Linked DNA regions of Homo sapiens: region 1 is linked to region 2. Evidence: promoter capture Hi-C in 16 types of primary human blood cells and fetal thymus (Javierre and others, 2016). All regions are on one chromosome and are shown on one strand. The core of a region is centred on a gene start or on the middle of the fragment in contact, and the rest is flanking DNA. Distances in the headings are between cores, read along the strand shown. Region 1 overlaps MED13L (mediator complex subunit 13L). Region 2 holds the start of FBXO21 (F-box protein 21).

The links. Contacts are between HindIII fragments. The CHiCAGO score rates a contact against its expected background, and 5 or more counts as called.
Region 1: a fragment that was not itself captured here is called in contact with the fragment with the promoter of FBXO21 in region 2 in 4 of 17 cell types (total B cells, fetal thymus, naive B cells and 1 more); the score reaches 7.2 in total B cells.

Annotation. Positions count from the first base shown.
Region 1 is chr12:115,986,245-115,990,169 of GRCh38, reverse strand. MED13L (mediator complex subunit 13L) reads left to right here. Exons shown (of 31, transcript NM_015335.5): 18 at 2,882-3,061; 19 at 3,681-3,904. Among named protein-coding and RNA genes, the nearest start is that of LINC02463, 100 kb to the right of the region's middle. The HindIII fragment of the contact is 1,336 bases long and covers 1,128-2,463 here.
Region 2 is chr12:117,188,300-117,191,823 of GRCh38, reverse strand. It overlaps FBXO21 (F-box protein 21), which reads left to right and starts at 1,354. Exons shown (of 12, transcript NM_015002.3): 1 at 1,354-1,606; 2 at 2,462-2,597. The coding sequence starts at 1,368. RefSeq lists silencers at 1,138-1,197, 1,238-1,337, 1,618-1,667 and an enhancer at 2,138-2,227. The HindIII fragment of the contact is 6,345 bases long and covers 1-2,626 here.

The DNA.
Region 1 (3,925 bases), core at 546-3,045, 1.2 Mb after region 2:
AGCGAGGCATGTGTCCCAGACAGGAGGTGCTGCAAGTGGGAAGGCCCTTGGTTGTATGGAGCTTGGGGCCTTTAGAAACTGACGCGAGGTTAGAAGCATGCAGGGGCTAGATTACAGTGACTCTTTAGAGGCATGCTAGGGGTTGGGTCTTCCTGCAAAAAGCAATACAAAGTCATTGAAAGGTTTTAAGAAGAAGCACTGATGTCAGATTTGTGTAGTTAAAAAGGAAAAATAACAATGTGCACTGGCTATAATTCTGGGTATGGATTAGAAAGTGGCAGGAATGGATTTGGGGAGACAAGGAGGTTAGTGAGGAAGACCTAGTAAGAAACAATAGCTTGCCTTAGTGTCCTTGTGAAGAAGGTGGAGAAGAAATATTATTGCAGGACTCAATAGTGAGTTGAGTTTTGGGGATAAGGGAAAGAGAGATGTTGAGGAGTCCCAGATTTGTTACTTGTATACCTGGATAGTCAGTGGTGTTCAAAGATAAGACTATATCTGGAGAGAAAGTTTATAAATTGAGTTGTGGAAGTTTGGAAGTTTTAAAGATCCCTTTTGATATATCCAGGTAGAGGTATCAAGTAGACTCTTGGGCCTTTTGCTCAGGGGAGAGGGAGTGGTTGGCATATAGGTGATAACTTCAATTAAGGGGGCACAGATGAGCTCATTGAGGAGGAGGAGAAAAGTATAGACGAGAAGAGGACCTGGTAGAGCTTAGCTACATTCTGACGGGTATAGGTGAGGCAGAGAAGCGTGAGCCTATCAAGCAGAGAAGGAAGAACCATAGAGGGGGCTTTTGGAAGCCAGGGGTAGCCAGTGTTTCAAGAAAGAGGAAGTGATTGACAGGCATTAAAATGCAAGTGAAGATTTTAAGATAAGGATTAAACATGTCTTCTGACCGTGGTGAGAGCTGTTTCTGTAGAGTGGTGGGAGCAGAGGCCAGACTGGAAGGGTTGTGTGAATGATGTGCGAACCCGGCTTCTGAACAACTCTCAGTCTTGCAGGGAAGAAAGTTATATAAGCTTCTTAAATACAGTTTGAAATCTGAAGTAATTAAAAGTATGTCCAGAGGTCAGTAGAGTATGGGGAGTGATGGGTATTTTCTGACTAGGCCAATCAAGGAAGCTTTCATGGAGGTAGAGATGACTAAGAAAGCATTAAAGGGTTATGCTCATTTGTATAACTGCTTAGGTTCAAGCACAGTGCCTTATACTTAAGCAGACCCTTAATCAGTTTCTACTGAATGAATTTATGAAGTGAAGAAAATGCAGCCTTTCCCCTAAAGAAATGTGGATGATCAGCTTGGGTGAGTCCTTTTACTAGATAGGCCTTCGGACAGAAAAGCAGTCTGTGTGCATGAATCAGTGGTGTCGTCTTTCAGGATGAAAAATAAGACATTTTATTGCAGGGGAGGTCTGGGTTTCAAATTTTAAGATGCCTAAAAGTACCAGATAATGTAAATGAATGTGATGGGAGACATTTGCAAAAGGCAGTGCCTTAAGCTGTCTTTTCAAAACTCACTTTCTATTTTGCAGGCACAGGAATAGGGTTCATAAGAAACGTGCTTGCTTTTAGTTTCCTCAAATCTGTGGTTCTCTTGGTCTGTGATTTCCTGCTTTTGATAGAGCCATTAATACAAGAAGTATTCACTGTTGTTGTTTACTATATGTAAAAAGAAGCACTGGCTGAAGATAAAAGGCAATGAAAACTGCATCAGACTCAGGACAGACAGCAGGGAAGGGGCCATGAGGTGCCTGAGAGGGACAGCTGCTCCTCAGCTCCAGCAAGTGGTGGTTATGCAGGAATATGGGTCTCCCAGTTCAAGGGAAGCTGGCAATCTAGATTTGTGTGTGAAATTTCCTGGAGTGATTTGTTCCAAAGTTTAACAAAATATTCTGTGGACCACCACTTTGCAACCTGTGTTTTACTGATTTAGGGACACGTTTGAAAATGTCTTAAGAATCCTTAATCATCCTGTGTTTCAAATTTAGTTGGCAGATAAATCTTAGATTTCTTTCCATGCCCCTTCCCTCATCAGCTAGAAGGGTAAGAGGGAGGCAGAGTCTTCAGGAATCCAGCTGTGCAGATTCACACCACATCACCTCCAGCGTCATTAGCTCTTTCTGCAGACCTTTTTAAGAATCTGATTTGCATGATGAACCCTCCATCCTGAGAAAAAAATACGTATGTCCAAGCGTGCTTGCACAGTTTTGCATGGAGTTCAGACAACTTTCAAATTTTAGGTTAGAAATCCCTCCCCAGGGCGACTGCTGGGACTAAAGTCATCTGCATTTAGAAGGCAGTGAATCCCATCCGTGCCTGCAGCGGACTTCGGTCCTTGAGGGCTTCAGCTGTGTTTCCCTGTGCCTCTGGCTGCACTGAAGATTGGCCTTCTCTTCATGCATTCTGTATTTTGTGAAAATATTTTTACAATTAGGAGCATTTAAAGAGTTTTTAAAAGCTTTTATTTAAGTTCCATTTTTTCCTACTTATCATATAAACAAAACATTGATATTTGCAAATAAAAGTAATAATTAAGAAACTTTTGCAGCTGTCTTATGAAAATCCTTGGAAACAGATTTCCATGGTTTTAAAAAGTCGCACCTATCCATTTTTCCACTTTTAAACAATTCTTCCATTAAACTTTTTTATATAGAGTAATCCATTTCCCCTTTTATTATTGTTGATACTAAATTATCAATTATTTTCTCTAATTTAGTAGAAGAATATCTTTCCTCCTGACTCCTAAGTCAAATATTTTAGAATCTACTACAGCTAATAACGTCATTGTTCTGAATATAACTGAGGCTCGAGGTGATGGTGAGGAAGAGGAGGGTGCTAGCCCCCTTATCTTCTCTGTTTCTTCTCACTTCTCTTCCAGTGCTGGACATCAGCATGCTCTCCTCCCAGGATGTGGTTCGTATGCTGTTGTCCCTGCAGCCCTTTCTCCAAGATGCCATCCAAAAGAAGCGCACGGGCAGGACCTGGGAGAACATCCAGCATGTGCAGGGACCACTCACTTGGCAGCAGTTCCATAAAATGGCAGGACGGGGAACCTACGGTAGGGTCTTTGTCCTGTTTAAAATTCCTTCTGACTTCAGTGCTGTTCAGTGAAGAGCAGCGTTAGTTACTGTCAAGTCCTTGCGTCACTAACAAAATAGGGGAGTCTTTTTCTTTGACCATTTAGTTTTATAATCTCTTTGTTTTCCTAAAGTTACTTTTGGAGTCAAGTTTCCTACCACCCTTGGCATAATCCAGGTCAGTGAGGAAGCTAATCCCTAAAAAGTGCATTTTTTAGATTCTCCTCATTTTCCCAATCCTCACTGCATTTTCATCTGGATGGACTTCTGGGCCAGTTCTGTCTACTTCATCATAGTCAGAATCATAATGCTTATCTTGAAGGAAATGATGTAGTGCTGCTTGGAAAGTTAATTTTAACTTGTTCTAGTCTGCCCTCTGATCTTACTGAACCTTTATAAACAAATTCTGACTTACTTAATTAAGAGTCCTCATCAGTGACCATTTAATTAGATGATTTCAAAAATACTTTTAAGAATGTCTTGTGAACATGGAGTGACATTTCAGATGCCAGAATTAAGACCAGTGCACCAGGAATTTCAAAATTGTAAGGTTGTGGGAAAAACTCTCTAGCACCTTTCTACACTACAATGTCATTTTAGGTTCGGAAGAATCTCCTGAGCCGTTGCCCATCCCCACTCTGCTGGTAGGCTATGACAAGGATTTCCTCACCATCTCGCCATTCTCCTTGCCGTTTTGGGAGAGGCTCTTGTTGGACCCATATGGGGGCCACCGTGATGTTGCCTATATTGTGGTGTGTCCAGAAAATGAGGCCTTGCTCGAAGGAGCCAAAACTTTCTTCAGGGACTTGAGTGCTGTATACGAGGTGAGGAAGTTACTGTGAAAA
Region 2 (3,524 bases), core at 105-2,604:
AGGTTTTGAAGCAAAGACTCCATTTTTCTCACCCCTGTATCCCCAGGGCACACAACACAGGGCTTTGGCACTGAACTAAACTGATTTTTTTTTTTTAATGTGCAGATCCTGAGACTACCCTCCCAATCCTGAGTGATAACTCCCGCTTTGAAGACTCAAATCCAGGCTTTAGCACTTTTGTCTCTGTAACTTTGAACCAGTGACTGCCACCTGGAAGAACTTTGCCTTTTCTGTAGAATAGGTATAACTGTGGTACCTATTGTGGGAGGTCAGACTATGCTCCCCAAATATGAAGGATTGTTGAGCTGGAAACAATTAAGAAACCAGTACAGGAGAGCTCTCTGCCTGCCCTCTATTAGCCTAAAATCAGGGCACACATTTGAGGATTATTATTACTCCCCTACACCATCATAGAGGGCTTCCCATAGCACCCACTCAAGAATATTGTTATTATTACATCATATGGTTAAGATTACTGACAAGCAAAAGTCAAGTGGATCTGAAATAGAATCCAAGACAAGGGGCTGGGCGCGGTGGCTCACGCCTGTAATCCCAGCACTTTGGGAGGCCGAGGTGGGTGGATCATTTGAGGTCAGGAGTTCGAGACCAGCCTGACCAACATGGTGAAACCCTGTCTCTACTAAAAATACAAAAATTAGCTGGCTGTGGTGGCGGGCGCCTGTAATCCCAGCTACTCGGGAGGCTGACGCAGGATAATTGCTTGAACCAGGGAGGTGGAAGTTGCAGTGAGCCGAGATCACGGCCACTGCACTCCAACCTGGGTGGTGGCGCGCGCCTGTAATCCCATCCGCACGGGAGGCTGAGGCAGGAGAATCGCTTGAACCCAGGAGGCAGAGGTTGCAGTGAGCCGAGATAGCGCCACTGCCCTCCAGCCTGGGTGAGAGCAAGACTCCTTCCCAAAGGGGGAAAAAAAATCCAAGACAAGGGATCCTGAGCAAGCCCTCTCACTCTCCGAACCTGTTTCCCCATCTGTAATATGGGGAGAAAGTTCGCAGGGTAATTCGGAAAGGTCCAATGCGCACAGAAAGCGCTCAGCACGCGTGAGAATAGATACCATTTTTATTTGTTAATTTTAAACATTAATTACGTTTAAAAGAATCAGTGCTACTATTGTTGTCCCGGACTAGAGGCGGCTTGCGCTGCCGGCTCCAAGCACAGAGCCCAATTATGTCCTCCCTTTTGCGGCGCTGCCACCCGCGCAGCCCCCAGCCGATGCAGGGGAGGTGTGGCCCGCGGATGGGCGGAGCGATCTCAGGACTCGCCCCCAAGACCAGTAGGCGGGGCCAGGCGGGGCGCCCGGGCACTCTCGCACGCGCGCGCGCGGCGGCCCCAGGTACGCGGACAAGATGGCGGCGGCAGCAGTCGACAGCGCGATGGAGGTGGTGCCGGCGCTGGCGGAGGAGGCCGCGCCGGAGGTAGCGGGCCTCAGCTGCCTCGTCAACCTGCCGGGTGAGGTGCTGGAGTACATCCTGTGCTGCGGCTCGCTGACGGCCGCCGACATCGGCCGTGTCTCCAGCACCTGCCGGCGGCTGCGCGAGCTGTGCCAGAGCAGCGGGAAGGTGTGGAAGGAGCAGTTCCGGGTGAGGTGAGCCAGCGGCCCCGCGCCCCGGCTGCGCGCCCACCGCCCCGCGCCCCCCGGGGCCGGGCAGCCGCCCCGCTAGCTCCCCGCGGCCGCCCCGCGCGCGGACCCCACCCCGGACCCCTTCCCGCGGACAGACAGACAAAGGCCTCCAGGCCCCGGACCCTGCGGGGCCACGCCAGGCGGACCCCCGGGTCCCCAAATGGCGCATCTAGGAGCGCCTCGCAGCCGGGTCCTCCGTCAAGGGTGACGCTGGCGGCGGCGCGGCTCGTCCCTTTTGCGCGCTTCTTTTGTGCCCGACTTCGGGCTGAAATGTTTACATGGACCCAGTGATGCATCGATCGGGCGGGCGCAGCATCCCCGGGCTGGTTGTGGACGGCACAGATTTCAGCGTGGCCCCAGGATGAAATCTGGCCCTGCACACTCCCTCTGTGACCTTGGGGGGAGCGACTTCCCTTTTTTTGAGCCTCGTTCATAGACTTTGAGTGGTGGTGATCATTAGACCTACCTTTCACCGTGTTTATTAAATTAGATGATGTCCGGGAGGCACGCACGCAGGGCCCCGGCTCCTAGGAGGCGCTCAATCAGTGCTCACTGTCATTGTCATTATTATTATTGTTGTTGTTGTTACAACTGTCCCCATTTTAGAGATGGGGAATGGAGACATCATTCATGCCGCTACGCCAAGGTCACACCGGGAGTGAGTGAGTGAATGCTGGTGGGGTTTTGAACTAGGTCTCTCGCCGGGGTCCCTCTTACCACTGGACGCCACTGCTGTCCCTGTTTCCAAGGCTGCCTTGGATTCGTGGCCGCCTGCCTTTGAGTTTCTGTTAAGCTGAGGGGGTGTTTCTCTCCTCGTAGGTGGCCTTCCCTTATGAAACACTACAGCCCCACCGACTACGTCAATTGGTTGGAAGAGTATAAAGTTCGGCAAAAAGCTGGGTTAGAAGCGCGGAAGATTGTAGCCTCGTTCTCAAAGAGGTTCTTTTCAGAGCACGTAAGGATCTGTTGATGTGGCTCTAAGCTTTGGCTTGCTGGTGTATGTGTCTGGGTCTGCAGGCATGAGCTCATCCAGCTCTTTTCGTATCTCCCTTTTCAATGCTCTCACAATCCCTTACTCACTTAGATGGCTGCAAGAGTCATTGTGTCCTTTTCCTCCTATCCAACAACACGAAGCCATTTGTCTGTGCCAGCTTTACTTTTCTAAAGCCAGAGAGAGAGTGGGGGTGGAGGGAGCAGGGAGGGACCCACGCAGCACAATGTAGACGGAGTCCAGATCAGCATTATTTCTCAAATGGGTTCAACGGATTTTTTTTGCAACCCCTCCGTTATTTGGGGAATCATCAATGATTGAACACTGTAAATTTCTCCCGGTTGTTTTCCCAGAAGGGTTGACGAAATTAATGTGGTTCTTCTCTCTGGCTTTGCAGGTTCTACCCAGTAGTGAACTGCATTATTTGTTAAGGTAACAGAGGATTAAAAGCTACCTATAAATCAGAGTTATTACTCCCTGAAATGAATTGTCTTGCATTCATTATCCCTGAAAAGTTTTTGGGTTTTTTTTTTTTTTTAAGTATTGCAGAAATACATGGTGGGTTTTTTTTGTTTTGTTTTGTTTTGTTTTCTTTTTTTCTTTCCTCAAAATGTCTCATGGAAGTTTCTTTCTTTTTTCTTTTTTTGAGACAGAGTCTTGCTTTGTCTCCCCGGCTGGAGTGCAGTGGCGCAATCTCAGCTCACTGCAACCTCCTACTCCTGGGCTCGAGCAATTCTCATGTCTCAGCCTCCCGAGTAGCCGGGACTACAGGCATGCGCCACCATACCTGGATAATTTTTGTATTTTTAGTAGAGTTGGGGTTTCACCATGTTGGTCAGGCTGGTCTTGAACACCTGGTCTCAAGTGATCCGCCGGCCTCTGCAAACCAAA